Regions from separate parts of the Homo sapiens genome. Here regions 1, 2, 4, 5 and 6 are each linked to region 3. Evidence: promoter capture Hi-C in 16 types of primary human blood cells and fetal thymus (Javierre and others, 2016). All regions are on one chromosome and are shown on one strand. The core of a region is centred on a gene start or on the middle of the fragment in contact, and the rest is flanking DNA. Distances in the headings are between cores, read along the strand shown. Region 1 overlaps PSMD14 (proteasome 26S subunit, non-ATPase 14). Region 2 holds the start of PSMD14 (proteasome 26S subunit, non-ATPase 14). Region 3 holds the start of DPP4 (dipeptidyl peptidase 4). Region 4 overlaps PSMD14-DT (PSMD14 divergent transcript). Region 5 overlaps TANK (TRAF family member associated NFKB activator). Region 6 overlaps TANK-AS1 (TANK antisense RNA 1).

Region 1 (3,240 bases), core at 558-3,057, 690 kb after region 3:
TATTCTTCTTAGCTACAAGTTTAAAACTAAGGTTTAGAGGAACGGGTTACACATTCTTCAAAGCATGATATGGAGGAGCACAAATTAAGCAGTTTCAGTAGCCTTGCTCAGTCAGAGATAAGGTTTGATCTTATCATAAGCTAAGTTTATAAATCATTCATAATTTATTAAATCTAACTTTATGATATCTAGGGGGCTCATGGGTATTTCAAATGAAAAGCCTAAAAAGCCACAATAACACAGCTGTTTCTTTACCCACATTAATCTGGAATTCCCCTTTTCCTAATTCAGTTTTGATTGATTCAAATAATTATGTTATGCATGTCTCCAAATTAACTATGTGGATTTTGGTCTTTACTGGGTCTGTCTAGCTCATGCTCTTATCCAGTGACATGCAATCTCACCAACCAGAATTTTTTTCACCTCACTCTGTCTCCAAGGTGAACAGGCCAATCATAATAAAATCTTAAGCTAATAGCATGGCTTTATTAAGAAACAATAATCCTGGATGTCCTGAAATCAATTCACAACTGCCCCCATATCTAACTCTGACAACATCAAGTGTTCAAATGAGGTTCAACAGTACTCTGGTGGACCTAAAGGATCCTCTGGCAGCCTAGAAAAACATGAAAGTCAGAAATAAACCTTTAGGGATATTTTTAACAAGTATAAAAACAAAAAGGACTTTGGGGTTAACCCTCAGGAATCTAAAGAGAAAAACTAACCAAAATAACCACCACTTCTCTAACTAATAGACTTTTACAATGTAGGTCTTAAGATGTCACTGAGGTAGAGGAAGAAGGGGTAAAGAAGAGAACATTTAATGAGCAGCTAGTATCTGCTTTACACATTACATCTTCTAATCTTCATAGTACTGTAAGGTAGGGCAATTCAATTTGTATTTTGACAGATGAAAATAAAATGCAGGGTCGGGCTCAGTGGCTCAAGCCTGTAATCCCAGCACTCTGGGAGGCTGAGGCAGGAGAATCACTTAAGCCCAAGAGTTCAAGACCAGCCTGGACAACATAGCAATACCCCATCTCTAAAAAAAAAAAAAAAAAAAAAAACAACAAAAAAGAAAGAAAATAAGACACAAATATTAATTTGTCCAAGTTTCTAGCTAGTAAAAGGCTAGATGGGGATCTGAACCTAGGTCATTCTGATTCCATAGCCTATGTTCTTTCTAACATACTATGCCACAATACATGTCAGGAAATTCTTGGATTAAGTCTATTTACTTTAAGGATCAGGATGAAACAAAGCATTATGTTAATTTTTAAGCTTTGCTAGCAAAAATCACTCCAATGAGTATTAAAATATTTTAGATGAGTACTTTAACAATAGATTCTTATTTTACCAATGTCTGTTATAAAAGTGAGCTATGAAATTCCATAGGGAGCAGTGACTGATTGTAAAGTACCAAGAGTGTATATTAAATCCTTACTCATTTCAATAATCATCAGAAGCAATGAATTAAATTTTAGTGCATAAAAATGCTATACTGTACAGATCAAAAAGTAGAAATGATCAGGGCTTCCTTTAATCTGTGCTCATATTCGTGTACATTAGGAGGTGAATCAGCCTGGTAGAGAATTAGAAAAAGGTGCTCAGTCCTCTAAGCAGACATAGTCTGGCGTAGAGAGTGGAGCTTGAGCTGGAAGCTCCCTCATCCAAGCACATTTGCGCGATGCACTCACTACTTGCACAACCCTACATGGTGGTCATAAAGCTAGTAACTGCTGTAGCCAATACATACAGAAGCCAGTTAATGGACTCACAGATACTAGGCCCTATATTTTTGAGACTAACTGTACTAATGAAATATTAACTGGTGTCTGAAGGCACAATCTACTTGATTTTCAATTACATTATATAGATAAAAGCATTAAAACTAACACAGACAGCATGAAAGATCAGCAGGTATAACAATAACAAAACAAAGGTAAGTTTAAATCAAATGATATCCTCAAGTAGTCTTTCAATTTCACTTACTCACCTGCTGTGTGCCCCCAGTGCCTTCCTCCCAAATCATAAGTCAACCGGCCATGTCCTTTTTGGGTTCATGTAGAACTACACAAGACCAACTGACTTATGATTTTACCTCTATGCACTCACTGCTGTGGAAAAGCAGGTGCATTATAAAACACACGGCTTACGGATTATATATAAGCTATTCATGGGTTCCTGATAAGTTTTTAAAAGTTTTCATGCTCCTTAAAAAGGTGTGCTTGGATCTAAAGACAAATTTGTTTGCCTTAATTTATTTTATATTGATAAACTGAAAATACGGTGGTAACTGATATCCTTTAAATCACGTTCTAAAATGAAGCTTTTTGAATATAAATAGAATAACTGAAAAGAAACAAAATGTGTTTTGTGGTTCCCTCTAGAGTGGAGAACTGAGTTGCAGAAGGCAAAAGAGGAAGGGAGAGTTTTTGCTAAATGACTTTGTACTTTAAATTTTTTTAACTGTATATATATTTTCTATGCCAAAATTAATTAATTAAATTTCCAATGATAATATAAAAGAATGAAGCAGTCTGGTTATGAGTACTAGTTCCTACATTACCTCACTGGATTACCTGGGCAACTCAACTTTATGGGCCTCAGGTTTCCTCATGTACTAAATGACTACAATGGCTCCTTTCTAGTGCAATTGTTTTATAACTTATATGTTCAGTAATTACTGAAACAATGTTTTCCAAATAGCTTAACTCTATTAAACAATGCAACTGTACTCAAGACTATACTTAGAGGCTCTTAGCCTTAGCACATGCATCTATGCATCAATATTTAGTAAATTTCCATGAGACTGACTACCAATCTTCAAATTTACTGTGACACTTAAGAATCCAAAATGTCACTGAACAGTTTATAATGGAATAGTTTAAAAAATTTAGTTACTAAAATAAATGCTTGTTAACTCTCAATTCTAAACATTTGAAAGTAATAGCCAAATGTTCCAAGTGCAAAATAAAAATAATATACATTATCATATATTAATATAAAAGCCTAGAGGATAGGCATTATACTTTCTCCTCTCTATCAGGATTATTAGTGGCTTCTATTATATAAAACATGAACGTGAAAATAACCTTTGTCTCTTAGCTTATTTCAACACTGTCAAGTAGTACTTTAAAAAATAACATTTTCTAAAAGCAATATATGTTTCACTGTAAAAAAATTTAAGAAATATGGACAAGGAAAGACAAAAAAATCTCATAATTCTACCATCCAAAG
Region 2 (3,066 bases), core at 529-3,028, 770 kb after region 3:
TAAGATGAACCCATGTCAAACAGATTAAAATTCAGCTTTTTCTCTTTTTTTTGAGACAAAGTCTCACTCTGTTGCCCAAGCTGGAGTGCAGTTGCGCGATCTTGGCTCACTGCAACCTCCACCTCCCAGGTTCCACCTCCAGCCTCCTGAGGTAGCTGGGAATACAGGCACGTGCCACCATGCCCGGCTGATTTTTTTATACTTTTAGTAGAGACGGGTTTTCACTATGTTAGCCAGGCTAGTCTTGGCCAGGCTGGATCATCTCATGATCTGCCCACCTCAGCCTCCCAAAGTGCTGGGATTACAGGTGTGAGCCACCGCACCCGGCCTAAATTAAAATGGCAATGTATTATTTACCAAGCACTTTAGGCTGAAAAAAAAACAAAAAACCAAAAACTCCCAAAGTCAACAGGTGAAGCATCAATAAAAGATCATCACTTGAAAACTTTCTTCCCTTGGCAAGATTTAGGGACAAATTCAAGACAACATTTAGCCTTTTTCACTAAATAGCACTTCACTAAACACACCTTAACTGTAGTTAATTCAGAACCACTATATATCTTAACCTCTAAACTTCAAATGAGTCAGCTGGTAGGTAGCCTTACGTGACAGGAAGGCCACCATTATATTAATCATCTCCACTAAAACTGTGTTCATGTTTTTGTTATTTCTACAGTATCAGTGCATGTCTTGCTGCTTTTCTCAAACACATTAAGTCAGAAGCACTAAAAAAACACTTGTGACCAGTGGAACAAAATCACTTTCACACTATAACTCTATTTTATGCTCATTTTTAAACCCTTTCCCCTGCCTTTCCATAATATTTTATCAACTTATATTACCATTTATTTTCTCGAGAATTTTTCCTTCAGTCACTAGGTTTATAGACTCAAAAGTTTACATTCTTTTTCTTTTGACAGACACAGAGCTACATCCCCAGGAAAATTAAGTTGCAAGATGTAACATACGGTAGCAGATTTCTACTTTACTTAAAACGAGAAATGTAATCAATTTACCAACAATTACTCAATTAGTATGATATTGAAAGTAAGTTAACAGCCATAGTAGCACACTTTGTTTTTAAGATATTCAAGGTCCAAAAGCAGTGTATCTGCAGGACTTTTGTTTACTTTTTGGAGGGAGCTGAAAACCTAACACTAACAGAAAAAGGGTTAAGGCTTACAGGAAGGACAAGAGATAAAACAAACGTATTCAATGGGAAAGTTAATTCTACTCTCTCTCCCTTGTTTTCCCGGTCTGCTTTGAAAAACTTCAAAGCAGACCGGTTAACAACTATGGATAGAGCACAGACAAACAGGCCATAAACAAGGATTCTCTCTATATAGATGGAAGAGGTTCCCATGATGTGAATTCGGCCAAACAGAAAAGAATGGAGAAAGGAGGCGACATCCAGACCTGACCCTGCCAGAGAGCCCTGAGAGCAGGCGAAGAGAATGAAGGAGGCCGGGCTCCTCCCTCGCGGCCCAGGCCTCCTGTGGCAACTCAGCTGGGCAACGTGACTCAGGAAAGCACGGGGCTGGCGGCGGCCTAGCACGGCTGCCTCCCCAGACCTCCCAGGCCTGCCTTCTGGGTCTTACCTGAAGACGGGCGGGAGCCGGATGCCGCGATATGGACCCTTGTCTTGCCTCTGTGGTGACGCGAAGACAGAGGCAACAGCAGCAGCGGCGCACACCCGACGCGGCTCTGTCTGCAAACCGGCGATGAATCAGCCCGATTCCATTCAAAAGAGTTGCCCGGGCCTCCGCCGCGAAGCACTTCCGGGTTCACTAGTTTGCTTCGGCTTCCGTTCCCCGACGGCCAATTGGAGACGACGGAGAGTCAAGCGGATGTCCAGGAGGAGCTCTTGGGACAGACGGCGCGGGCGGCCCGGCGTCTCCTGTCTCTGGCAGGACTGTGAGGCGGCACTTAGCGCCCTGGTCGCTCGCGCCCCGCCGACGCCTCCTTTTTCTCTCCCTACCTCTGCGCTCTGCGGCCGCCGCTGAGATCTGGGACGGCGGCACATCCAGCCCGGGAGACGACTGGCTAGGAAATAGAACTGTTAGTATTTTGAAGCCCAGATCCCCTTTCGTTTTGGTGTTCACTACTATTATTGCCCTCCTCAAAAACTAAAAGGTTCATTTGAGCTAGATTTAACTTGGTTATCTGAGAAGAAAATTTTTTTAAAAGAGGGGGGATGGTGTGATTAGAGGGGACCGGTAAGACGCCCTTTTCTGTAAGTCCGCTTTATCCACCTCTTGTCATTATTGCTTTGCAAGGATTGGATTTCAGGGAAAACTAAGGTTTCCCAAATGTTCAAACCACCTATTTTAAGCCGAGTTTAGTTTACAGGGTTTAAAGAGTCATTTATTCACATTTCTCCATGTAATTATCGGCAATCACATTTTACTCATGATCTACTTTGTGCTAGGCTTTCAAAAAGCAAAGTTGCAGAAGATATACTTGACAAGTTGATATTACACTCTAGGTCTAGGTACAGTCTCTGTTTAAGGCAGCTTGTTTGCCACGTTCCTGTCACTTTCTCAAATATGTTCCAAATAACAAGCATCTTTAAAGCATTCCTAAATCGAGAATGGTGATGAATCTACTGGACAGAGGGTGAGGAAAGATTACAGCGCCTGGATCCAAACTGTGATTTGAGTAGCACAATTGCTTTAAGATATTAATACCTTTAAAAACACAAAGATTATTTTACTCATAGGTAATATTTGGATCCACATCTTTATGCTTCCCCCCCAAACCTATGCCTCTCTATTCATTTTTTATGGGAGGAGGGGGTGAGTAGCCCCGTCCTCCAAATAATTTTCCTAATCAGAAACTTAAGAGTATGAACACTTGCCTCTTTTTCATCTCTCCCCACTGTAGAAACCATGAAATGTGTAATCTCCATAACAGCTTTTCCAATCCACCACTTCCCCTTCTAAATACTCCCCACTTTGGCCTTAACTCAGACCTTCCTCACTTCTTTTTTATTTTATTTTATTTTATATGTATTTATTTATTAATGCATTTTTGAGTTAGGGTCTTGCTTTGTCACGCAGGCTGGAG
Region 3 (2,841 bases), core at 310-2,809:
GCCCTCCAGAGAACAAATTGACCTGTCCCGTAGATGTCAGCCAGCCTCCTGCCAGCTTCCTTGGGGCTTGCTGAATGTACAATGAGTGCCATGGTGCTGGCATGGAGATGAAGCACAGGCTTAACTCTCCAGACTTCCTTCACCGAGGCTGATGTGGCTTACCAATGCTGAGTGAGCAAAATGCTGAGAGTGAAGGGCAGCACTGAGCCCCCTGTGGCACCATTCCCCGTAGTCCGTGTTAAATGGCCTCTCTTCACAGCATCAGTTCACAGGGTCCAGTAACACCATTGACTCATCTTCCTCAGCAGTTGGAAGAGGGAGGAGGAGAGTTAGTTTCAGCCTCTGGAGTTGGGGGTGAGTGAGGATACTGATGTATCACAAGCAACTAGTGGGCAAGGGGGAAAAGATGACTGAGTTCAAAAGCAATGCCTGGATTGGAAATAAAAGATGGAAAATTGCATTAATTCATAATCATGTGGTAATGCCCCATCGGACTCTGCATTCTTAATCTTTTACCTCTACTGACAGAGAGGCTTTGCTTTTCAGCTGCTGTGAACAAGCTGAAGAGGCCTTATCCTCTTATCTGCAAGAGTGGAAGTAATCACAGGGGGCCCTAAAGGCAAATGTTTACCTGTGTATTTTATCGTGAAAGTGCCAAGGGTCCAGACCTCACCTCTCTTGTCCCACTTTATCTCCAGTACCTAGAAGGGAGGCTGGCACATTGTAACCACTCAAACATCTGTGGATGACTGGAATAAATGGGAGGATGTAGGAATGAATGAACGAATGAATAATCCTTTAGGGAACAATAGAGAGCTGGGGGAGGGAGAAGCCATACCTGATCTTTTATTCTTCTCCAAAACCCTTGAAAAGACTATGAGAGGCCGCATAGAGTAGCCATTAAGACCTTGAACTCTTAATTTAGGATCTACAACTTCCTAGCTGAATGGCTTGGCCAAGTTATTTATTCTCTGTGTACAGTCTTCCTTCCTGTAAAACAAACACAGTAAATGCTTAGAGCAGCACCTGGGAAAAAGTCAAGTTCCACATAAGTGTTACTGTCATTATTTTTGTCATCTTGATGAGTGTGTAAGCCTGCAAGACAATCGGGAAATTCCCTAGGGAGGGTGAATCCAGATACTCAGCTTCCAAGGGCCATTCAAGAGGGAACAATCACCTTTTCTCTTTGCCTTTCATACTGCTTTAGACCCCTCACTGCTTCCTAACATAACTTTCACTGGCAAGAGACGGAGTCCTGGGTTTCAGTTCCAGTTGCCTGCGGTGGGCTGTGTGAGTTTGCCAAAGTCCCCTGCCCTCTCTGGGTCTCGGTTCCCTCGCCTGTCCACGTGAGGTTGGAGGAGCTGAACGCCGACGTCATTTTTAGCTAAGAGGGAGCAGGGTCCCCGAGTCGCCGGCCCAGGGTCTGCGCATCCGAGGCCGCGCGCCCTTTCCCCTCCCCCACGGCTCCTCCGGGCCCCGCACTCTGCGCCCCGGCTGCCGCCCAGCGCCCTACACCGCCCTCAGGGGGCCCTCGCGGGCTCCCCCCGGCCGGGATGCCAGTGCCCCGCGCCACGCGCGCCTGCTCCCGCGCCGCCTGCCCTGCAGCCTGCCCGCGGCGCCTTTATACCCAGCGGGCTCGGCGCTCACTAATGTTTAACTCGGGGCCGAAACTTGCCAGCGGCGAGTGACTCCACCGCCCGGAGCAGCGGTGCAGGACGCGCGTCTCCGCCGCCCGCGGTGACTTCTGCCTGCGCTCCTTCTCTGAACGCTCACTTCCGAGGAGACGCCGACGATGAAGGTGAGTGCCGCGCCACGTACGTCCCCGGGGCGAGCTGTGGGGACCTCTTCGCCAAACTCCCCAAATGGCCCAAAAGCTGGCGAAACCGGACCAGGGACTCCCCTTAGGCGGAAGCCCCAAGGCCACCCTCTGACAGGTGAAGGGACGTCCCAGAGCTCTCGCTTAGCTTTCGGACCCTGGCTTCTGCTAGGACCCTGGCGTCGAGCTTTGAATGTCCCGGAGAGCCACTCACAGAACGCACGCCCGAACCCGGGCAGGGGTAGAGAAACCAACGCTAATGTGCTCTGAAGGCACAAGTTCAAGGGCACCCGCCTTAGAGAACTCCAACTGGCGCACTCCAGACGCCACCCCCACCCCCAGCCCGCGGTCTCCCTCTTCTAACGCACTCCCACCTGCAAATCCTGCTGCCTCTGGAGCAGCCCCGACCCTCCTACGGAAACTGGGGCCACACGCTTCCCTCTAATTGGACTTGATCTGCTCGGCTTGCAGACACCGTGGAAGGTTCTTCTGGGACTGCTGGGTGCTGCTGCGCTTGTCACCATCATCACCGTGCCCGTGGTTCTGCTGAACAAAGGCAGTAAGTTTGAAACATTTGAAAAAGATAGGACAGTTGGAGCTCAGGTCAGGCTCCGTCTTACCACGCTAAGGGAAACGAGGGATTTTGCGTGGGGTTGGACCAGTGCCCCGAAGTGTAGCTGAGAAGGCTTCCCAGTTGTTGTTGCTGCTTGTAGAGCAGCAGCTGGATTCACTTCGCGGGGTCTTCAGTGTTTAGGCTGAAACTCTTGCGGCTTTCACGTCTTGTTATGTATAATAAATGCATGCTTCCTGAAATTAGGGAGAGTCGGGATTTTTAAAATTTCAATTTTAAATTTAATTTGTAAATTTTTAAATTTACATGTAATTTTTGAGAAAAGTTTTTGGGTGTGATCGAAAAAGGAAAAAAGGCAGTGTTTAAAGAGCCCAAAGACAGCAGTAAGGATATCTGAAATGGAAAGGAAAAATGAGAAAGCAAGCCCCAAAATACAGTTTTGAGAAATGATGTT
Region 4 (2,812 bases), core at 286-2,785, 820 kb after region 3:
AGTGTTGGTGAAGATTAGGATAAACAGACATTCTCATGTACTTCCATTTTGGAAGGCACTTTAGTCTACGTATCAAAACTCATAAAAAAATCCTTTTTGACCCTAAAATTCCCCTTTTAGAAATTTATCTGGAGGAAGTAATTATAAATGTATGCAAATATTTGTCCACAGAGATGTTCACATAACATTGTTTATGATATAGAAAAATTAGCAATTATTGGCCGGGCATGGTGGCTCACGCCTGTAATCCCAGCACTTTGGGAGGCCTAGGTGGGTGGATCATTTGAGGTCAAGAGTTCGAGACCACCCTGGCCAACATAGTGAAACCCCATCTCTACTAAAATATACAAAAATTAGCCGGGCATGGTGGCACATGCCTATAGTCCCAGCTACTCAGGAGGTTGAGGCAGGAGAATCGCTTGAACCCAGGAGGTGGAAGCTGCAGTGAGACGAGATTGTACCACTGCACTCCAGCCTGGGTGACAGAGTGAGACTCTATCTCAAAAAAAGGAAAAATTAGCAATTACCAAATACATAGTGTTAGAGAACTTGTTAGACAAACTATGGTGCATTTATACTATGGAATACTATAGTTAGTATTTAATGACATGGGAAAATGTGATATATTTTAAGGGAAGTGTCACTCATCAATGAGTAATGTCATATATCCTAATTATTTTTAATACTTACTAGTGCATAAAAATATGTATAAGAGGCCAGGCACAGTGGCTCACGCCTGTAATCCCAGCCCTTTTGGAGGCCGAGGCGGGCGCATCACGAGGTCAGGAGATTGAGACCATCCTTCCTAACATAGTGAAACCCCGTCTCTACTAAAAATACAAAAAATTAGCCGGGCGTGGTGGCACGCGGCTGTACACAATGAACATGTATTACTTTTGTAATCGGAAATAATGTTATAAAAATGAAATACTTTTAAAAAGCATTTATGATACAGATATTGTTATTTATGTTTTTCCTCAAGTGATTAGTTGCTCTGCCTTATTTTGGCCAAGTTCCAGGTAAGCTTCTGGGCACTTTATTGAAAAAAATAAATCAAGTAAATCATTAGACTAAAATTATATATTGATTTTGCAAAAGTAGCAGTATTTTGCTGGACAAAGTCACAGAGCTAAAATATATGATATTTTCATTTTTAACAATGAAACGACTATTATAATTAAAAGAATTCAGTTTGCATTATATGCCTTTAAATAAAGATTAAATGGACCCCTGACACACCAAATTAATATGTAATCCAGTTTCATTTTTTAACTAATGGAAACACAAATTAGTATAATTTTATAATTTAATACTCAGCAATAGATCATTTTTTAAAATAGAAGAAATTAAACATTTTTCCACATACCATCCTTAGGGAACAAGGCATATCATAAGATATGACAAATAAGCTTCTAGGAAAAGTCTTCATTTGTTCTTTCCAGAAAATGTGAATTTGCTAATTTGGTGACAAATATATGTATACATATTATATGTAATAAAATTATACTGAAAATAAAATCAATGAAATATTGAAATTTTAAGTGCAAAGCATCTGGTTAAAACTGCCTACTCTTGCTTATATATCCTTTTTTATTTGCTATTTATATTAGCAAAATGAACTTAACATAATGCCTCAAATAGTTAATGAATATAAAGCTTTAAAACAGTAAATATGTATTGTACATGATCTTTTGGAATCTGATTTCAGGTACAACTAATTTGACAGGCAGTATGATAAGGAACAATCTGAATGACACGTAAACAGGAGGGGGTAAATTCCAAGCACAGCCTGAATGAGAAGTACAACTCATTTCCTGTAACCTAGATGCCTTTTTAACACATCTATGCAGTCTCCATGTGAAACCAGGTGCTGTTCCCAAAGGAGAAAACACTGCCCTCCAGTGGTCTTCAATGAAGAAATGGAAATAGTTTCAGGTACCATGATAGCAGCATTTACATGAAACATGGTATATTTATCTAGTCTCATTTTTGGCTGTATTTCTTAAGCTGAAACACGTCTACAACTGAGCATAAGGACAAAATTTCCAAGATAAATTCTAATAGGTAGGTAGTTACTCCAGTTAGATAGACATATTAACAAGGAGGATTATGACTTTCTAACCCCAAAAGCTGACCATTTATTCGACTATCAAAATTGGATTATGTTAGCCACCTATAGTTTCTCACTTTCCAGATAAGAAAGAAGATATTTCATCTCTGTGTTTCCCTTGTTGGCCAATTTTTTAGCTAAAAGACATTTAAAATTGTACAGCAGGCAGAACCCCAGGGGACTGAACAGTGTTCCAACATCCTTAAAGGCTTCCCATCACTTGAAAAACCAAATTCTTCCTCCTGTTTCTTAAACTAACCAAAGTAGGCAAAAGCAATTTTTAAAAGTCTTTGTGTCTAGCATTGGAACTTTCTCATATTTCACACCATTATATAAATGTCACTCTAACCTATATGTATCACAAATGCTACGCTAAATTAGGGCCAAATTTGCAACCTAGTTTAACTGGGTTTCCTCTTTTTGCAAATGCAGTTTTTGTGTCTGCATTTAGCAATGCATACAAAACTGTCCGTGTAGCTAACTGCTTCAAATTGCTAAATTTGAGGATGGATGTGTAGAGTCTTTATGTATGTGCCAAAGCAATCCTGTTTCTAGTCATATAAAGACTTCCTAATCAAATGGACCTTGACTACATTGCTAAATTCTTGGACCACTTCACTTACTCTTTTGGATTTAGTAAAGGAAAAACTGAATTTTAAGAGGGGAAAGAGACAGTTTTCAAACCTCCTCCATGTCTCTGTC
Region 5 (2,974 bases), core at 192-2,691, 840 kb after region 3:
TAGTAATGATTGATAGAAAGTAAAATTTTGAAATATGTAGCCAAAAATTTCACTTGTCTTTGCTACTATCTACAAACAACTCAGGATTTTTTTAAAAAAAAAATTATTATTATTATTTTGAGACAGGGTCTTGCTCTGTCACCCAGGCTGGAGTGTGATGGCACCATCACAGCTCACTGCAACCTCGAACTACCTAGCTCAAGCAATCCTCCCACCTCAGCTTCCCAAGTAGCTGGAGGCCACAGGCACAAGCCACCACACCCAGCTACATATATCTATATAACTATACGTATTTGTAGAGACAAGGTCTTACTATGTTGCCCAGGCTGGTCTCAAATTCCTAGGCTTAATCAATCCTCCTGCCTCAGCCTCCCAAAGTGCTGGGATTATAGGCATGAACCACCGTACCTGGCCCAACTCAGGAATTTTGTACTTATACTAGCTTTGTACTTATACTAGCTTGCATAATACTAGCTTTATTAATACTAATAAAATAGCTTAAAAGGTTTTTTTTAAAAAACTCATTTTAAGAAATATTCTTTCCATCCTAAACTGTAACATGGTCTTCAAAACAAACTAATTTCTTTGCTTTTTCTGCCAAAATATCAATTATCTAACCTTATGCCCCATGTCTTGTGACAACTCAACACTAATTCTCCTGAATTTTTTAAGCTGAATACTTTTCCATCAAGTTGTAATCACATACCAGCTGTTTCCCTTGCTGTAGTATAGAAAGCAAATGTACAATGCAGGGTGCCATCTACTGAAACATGAATGCACAGACTAGTAAAAGAACAAGCAAGACATATAATAGAGAAAAAAGTAACAAGCATTAGAACTGATGCACTTCACAGCTCCACAGGAATTCTACTTGCAATAAATGAAATTGTTTAATTTGTTTCATTTAGTAGCAACTATAACTGAGACTATGATGTGAAATAAAGTACAATGAACAAGAACATAAGTGAGGTTATAATTAAAACTTATTGTCAGCCATGCCTAGTTCTTCCCACTACTAAAATATACCACAGCTTGACAACTGCCTTCTTTGCGTGCTGATTTAAGTCTATAACCTATATGTGTACTTAAAGCAAAAGGGTATTAATAACTTTTTTAAAAAAATTAAATATCTCAAGGCAAAGAGAAATCAGACAAATGTTTGCAAGTTACATAGACATTTACATCAATCTGTATTTTCATAAGCTTCTGTTTTTTGTAAAAATTATATAGTTTTCATTTGCTTTCAGACATTAAACTTTTTTTTAACTAAAAGAATCATTCTGTGATAGAATTTGAATCTAAAAGGGAGGGCAGGAGTGGTTTGGGGGATATTAGTCTGTGAGCTTTAGAAACATTAAATAAAATATTTGATATCATACACATGCAGAGACTATTTAAAAAATATACTAGGCTACATGTTCATTTCCAGATTAGCAACCAAAACCAAACTAAACCCTACAGATCTGTGTACTATATAACTGAAGATGTAGTAGAAGTATTCACTGAAAGATAGTTCACTTATTTTGATAAATAGAAATGTAAGATGCAATTATTTACTTATGAAAGATCTTGAATTCTTATAAAGATGAATATGATATACACAAACTATTAAATAAAACAGCATTTGTTTCACACTATGAAATTTAATATTCTTATTAATCCTGAGTAAACAAGCTTTGAATAAGGAACTAAGAAAGTGACACCACGACAGATATGGATAAGGCTTAACATGTATTTTTAAATCTGACATAAATTCTAAGGTACTTTCCAATAAAGTTTTACCATATTCAGCTTTTCTAATTTCATGTCATTTATTATGGGACTTGTTTTTTTGAAAGCCTTAACTTTGGCTGTCAGTAGTTTAAAAAGGATGTTTGATAACGTAAAAGAGATGCATATCTGTGCATGTATGGCAAAATGTGTGTTCACACATAATAATATATTTGTTAATGCAAAACAGTTACCTGCTGTGGTCCTCGGATTGCTTTTCCCGGGGAATCGAGTGAGGGAAAAGGTGCATCAGATGGGTCCAGAAGTGGGAAGCTATTTACATATAATGCATTATGGTCTCCAGGTGGCAAACACGCAGCTCTATCCAGAGTTGTCCTGATACAAGTGTTTACGAGATTTGAGGGCTTTGTTTTGTCAGTTGTTTTAAGGTTTTGTATAGCTGAAGCTATGGGGTCAATTCCCTGAATTTCAAATAAAGTTTCTTCTGTTTTAACAAAGTTCCCTGGGTTGTCTCTGAACTCCATATTAAATTTCTCTTGGCACACTGCCTCAGACGTGGCAGGACTAAGGATGCCGGGTCTCTCTGGAGTGCTATGTAAGAAAGTTGAGTCATTGTCCATAGGTGGAAACTTGACATTGAATTTAGAAAGTGATTCAAAAGAGGTGTCTTCCTCATCTCTGCACAGTCCTCTTGGTGTGACAGATGTGATGGATGGTGCACCTCTATTTATATCATCTTTAGCCTGAGGCTTAAACAGCGCTTCTTGTTTATCTGTTTTATCCGTACACTGTATAGGCACAGAGCACTGTGTTTCTGGAGGGAGAAGAACACAAAAGAGAAACAGCCGCATTCAAATCATTAAAAAAATCTGTTCAATCAGCTTTGGAGAGATTATTATTATTTTTTCTATTGGTTTTTATAGCAAATGAAGACAACTGGGATTTTAAAATTTGCTACCATCTTACACAGAATATTAGCAGTCTCCAGCGGGTGAACTGAAACATAGCTTATTAGTCGCAATTTAACTACTTTGTCTTTTCCTAAGTCTTCTGCCGTAAGCTTTGCATCTTGTTCACAGTTACACTGCTCCACACTTGAAAAACATTTGCTTGTAGTGTATACATTTAAACATTTTGTCAGTAACGGAAGCTATAACTGTGAGTTTGCTTAGACAAATAAGTTGTTAAAAGGGAAAATCTTACTAGGTATATCTAAAATTAGGTCATTTATTATTAATGTCAC
Region 6 (2,989 bases), core at 106-2,605, 920 kb after region 3:
CCAGGTGTTGTGGTACACGTCTGTAATCCCAGCTACTCAGGAAGCTGAGGCACAAGAATCATTTGCACCTGGGAGGCGGAGGTTGCAGTGACCTGAGATGGCACCACTGTACTCCAGCCTGGGCAACAGAGTGAGACTCTGTCTCAAAAAAAAAAAAAAAGTGTATGCTTAATTTTTATGTTAATAGAGGAAGAAAGAAATTAAAACATTGTCCACATAATAAAGATTTAAATATCTTAATTCCCAACATTCAATCAGTCACCCAATCAGGTACATCATGTGAGTACTCCTCTGCAGTATTTCTTGCATGCTTACACTCTATGTCCCCATTGCTACTATCTATCTCCATTCCTACCCGTTGTTCAAGCCACCATCAACTCATAGTTTCAATGCTAACCTCCTAATTGTTTGCCTCACTTTCTCCCTTGTCAGATTCTATGTTGTTATGTTTCTTTACCACCTACAACTATTAAATGTCTTCCCCTCACCTTTAGAATAAAATCCAAAATCTTAATCCTGGAATAAGGCATCTTCCTAACTCTCCAGACTTATGTCCTGCTGCTTCTTCCTGGTGATTTTGGGCTTCTTTTAATACCTTAAGTGATCACTCTTTTGTCCTTTTCAGGTATTTGCTGCTTTCCTCAGCCTAGAACATGTTTTCCTCATATTTTACCTGGTCTGTTGAGTCCTCTACTGAATGATCTGATTCTAAGCTAGGCCACACTTGATTTCCTTTCTAGGTTAAGACTGTGGGCTTAGCTGTGGGCTCCTATTTTACCCTGTCCTTTCCTCTTTATGACATGCATTATGCTTGAAATTTCAAGATACATATTTGAATGTTTTTAAGCTTAGGATGGCCATTATGACTGATATTAGAGAAACTTATACTCACTAGGCAGAGTCCTAGGTTATCATTGCCCCCACGAAGGCAAACTACAGCTGAGAGAAGCTAAAGCATGATGATTGTAAGTGAGAGTTCTGTGTTAAAGTTGCCTCGTTCATATGTTGGTATTGCCATTTACTAATCATATGACTTTACTAATCCTGTGCCTCAGTTTCTTTTCCTGTCAAAGGTCGAGTGTACTTGTCCAACAAAATAATGTATGAACAAGATCTGGCCTACAGGAGGACTGCAGTAAATATTGGGTAATATAGAAAATTCCTGTAACTTAGTAGGTGGTTCTACATGCAGTTGATTTTTTTTTTTTTTTTTTTTTTTTGAGACAGGGCCTCACTGTTGTCACCCAGGCTGGAGTGCAGGGCAGGATCTTGGCTCATTGCAGCCTTGACTTCCTGGGCTCATGTGATTCTACCACCTTATGCTCCTGAGTAGCTGGGACTACAGACGTGCACCATCATGCCTGGCTAATTTTTGTATTTTTTGTAGAGACAGGGTTTCACCATGTTGCCCAGGCTGGTATTAAACTCCTGAGCTCAAGAGATCCATCTGCCTCTGCTTCCCAAAGTGCTGGGATTACAGGTGTGAATAGGGATCACACCCAGCCTGATTTTTAATTTAAATAAAAAGTCATAATTATCACTTAAAATGTCTTTAAAAGTTCATACTGAGAAGGCCTCTATATTGGACTTAATAGAAAAAGACTTTCAATCAGTTGCCTTAAATATGCCCGAAGAACTAAAGAAAACCATGGACAAAGAACTAAAAGAAATCAGGAAAATGATTTATGAACAAAAGGAGAATATAAAAACATGATATAAATTATAAAACAGAACCAAATAGTAATTCTGGAGCTGAATGGCACAATAACAAATGGAAAATTAATTATAGGGGTTCAATAGCAGATTTCAGCAAGCAGAAGAAAGAGTCAGAGAATGTGATAAGATAGTTAACATCAAGCTTACCTTCTATGCATTGTGGGAGTCTTGAAGGAGAAATGAGAGAAATGAAGCAGAAAAAATATTTCAAGAAATAATGGCTGAAAACTTCCCAATTTGCTAAAAGTCTGAACCAGCTTATTCAAGTTGCTCAATGAACTCTAAGTAGAATAGACTCAAAAAAATCCACACTGAGGCATTATAATCAAATTATCCTTTAGCTCTTTGGGCATATTTAAGACAATTGACTGAAAGTCTTTTTCTAGTAAGTCCAATATCTAGACCTTCTCAGTGTGAATTTTTAGACATTTTAAGTTATAATTATGGCTAATTATTTAAATTAAAAATCAAATGCATGTAGAATCACCCACTAAATAACAGGAATCATTTATATTACCCAGTATTTATTGAGTTCCTTCTGTAGGCCAGGTCCTGTTCATATATTATTTCATTGTACAGATACTCTCAATTTTTGAGGCAATTTTTGAACTGAGGACAAAGAGAGAATATTGAAAGCAGCAAGAAAGAAGTGACACATTATGTGCAAGGGATCATCAATAAGATTAACAGCCAATTTTGCTTTGAAACTATGAAGGCCAGAAAATAGTAGAATGACATATATAAAGTGCTAGAAAAAAGTGTAAACCAACAATTCTATAAATGGCAAGACTATCCTTCAAAAATAAAGAAGAAATTAAGACATTTTGAGATAAATGAAAGCAGAAGGAGCTTGGTGTTAGTAGACTTACCCTAAAGAAATGATAAAGGGAGTACTTCAGGCTGACTACTAGGAGATAATTTGAGGCCATACAAAGAAATAAAGAACTTCAGTAAAGACAACTACATAGGTAAATATATTAAAGCTAGGATAATTGTATTTTGGTTTGTAACTCCTCTTTTTATTTCCTATATGATTTAAAAGACAAATCCTTAAAAATAATTATCAATCTGGCACACAACTTATAAAGATATAATTTGTGACAACAACACGTAAGGGGTGATTAAGCTGCTTAGTAGTGGAGTGTTTGTATGTTACTGAAACTAAGTTGGTATAAGTTAAAATTAGGTTGTTATAAATTTAGGTTGTTAATTGTAACTCACATGGTAATGACTAAGAAAATATTTTTTAAAAATCACAAAAGAAAATGAGAAG

Evidence for each region. The method cuts DNA at HindIII sites, captures the fragments that hold promoters and counts their contacts. A CHiCAGO score of 5 or more calls a contact.
Region 1: a contact is called between a fragment that was not itself captured here and the fragment with the promoter of DPP4 in region 3, in 1 of 17 cell types (naive CD8 T cells). The highest score is 5.2, in naive CD8 T cells.
Region 2: a contact is called between the fragment with the promoter of PSMD14 here and the fragment with the promoter of DPP4 in region 3, in 6 of 17 cell types (activated CD4 T cells, naive CD8 T cells, naive CD4 T cells and 3 more). The highest score is 9.8, in activated CD4 T cells.
Region 4: a fragment that was not itself captured here is called in contact with the fragment with the promoter of DPP4 in region 3 in 2 of 17 cell types (naive CD8 T cells and naive CD4 T cells); the score reaches 5.3 in naive CD8 T cells.
Region 5: a contact is called between a fragment that was not itself captured here and the fragment with the promoter of DPP4 in region 3, in 2 of 17 cell types (total CD4 T cells and fetal thymus). The highest score is 5.9, in total CD4 T cells.
Region 6: a fragment that was not itself captured here is called in contact with the fragment with the promoter of DPP4 in region 3 in 1 of 17 cell types (non-activated CD4 T cells); the score reaches 6.2 in non-activated CD4 T cells.

Annotation. Positions count from the first base shown.
Region 1 is chr2:161,387,717-161,390,956 of GRCh38, reverse strand. The region is part of intron 8 of PSMD14 (proteasome 26S subunit, non-ATPase 14); the gene reads right to left. Among named protein-coding and RNA genes, the nearest start is that of TBR1, 27 kb to the left of the region's middle. The HindIII fragment of the contact is 1,048 bases long and covers 1,284-2,331 here.
Region 2 is chr2:161,307,137-161,310,202 of GRCh38, reverse strand. PSMD14 (proteasome 26S subunit, non-ATPase 14) reads right to left here and starts at 1,778. Exons shown (of 12, transcript NM_005805.6): 1 at 1,599-1,778. RefSeq lists an enhancer at 1,451-1,910. The HindIII fragment of the contact is 7,205 bases long and covers 1-3,066 here.
Region 3 is chr2:162,072,933-162,075,773 of GRCh38, reverse strand. DPP4 (dipeptidyl peptidase 4) reads left to right here and starts at 1,559. Exons shown (of 26, transcript NM_001935.4): 1 at 1,559-1,798; 2 at 2,288-2,375. The coding sequence starts at 1,793. DPP4-DT (DPP4 divergent transcript) reads right to left here and starts at 917. Exons shown (of 3, transcript NR_147697.1): 1 at 839-917; 2 at 163-296. RefSeq lists a promoter at 1-1,154, enhancers at 709-1,406, 1,841-2,040 and a silencer at 1,431-1,690. The HindIII fragment of the contact is 4,875 bases long and covers 1-2,841 here.
Region 4 is chr2:161,250,119-161,252,930 of GRCh38, reverse strand. It overlaps PSMD14-DT (PSMD14 divergent transcript), which reads left to right. Exons shown (of 4, transcript NR_110593.1): 2 at 1,709-1,935. Among named protein-coding and RNA genes, the nearest start is that of PSMD14-DT, 3.1 kb to the left of the region's middle. The HindIII fragment of the contact is 247 bases long and covers 1,412-1,658 here.
Region 5 is chr2:161,230,542-161,233,515 of GRCh38, reverse strand. It overlaps TANK (TRAF family member associated NFKB activator), which reads right to left. Exons shown (of 8, transcript NM_001199135.3): 7 at 1,965-2,545. The region is part of intron 3 of PSMD14-DT (PSMD14 divergent transcript); the gene reads left to right. Among named protein-coding and RNA genes, the nearest start is that of LINC01806, 13 kb to the left of the region's middle. The HindIII fragment of the contact is 471 bases long and covers 1,206-1,676 here.
Region 6 is chr2:161,151,919-161,154,907 of GRCh38, reverse strand. The region is part of intron 2 of TANK-AS1 (TANK antisense RNA 1); the gene reads left to right. It also overlaps a transcript of TANK not described here. Among named protein-coding and RNA genes, the nearest start is that of TANK-AS1, 6.9 kb to the left of the region's middle. The HindIII fragment of the contact is 1,011 bases long and covers 850-1,860 here.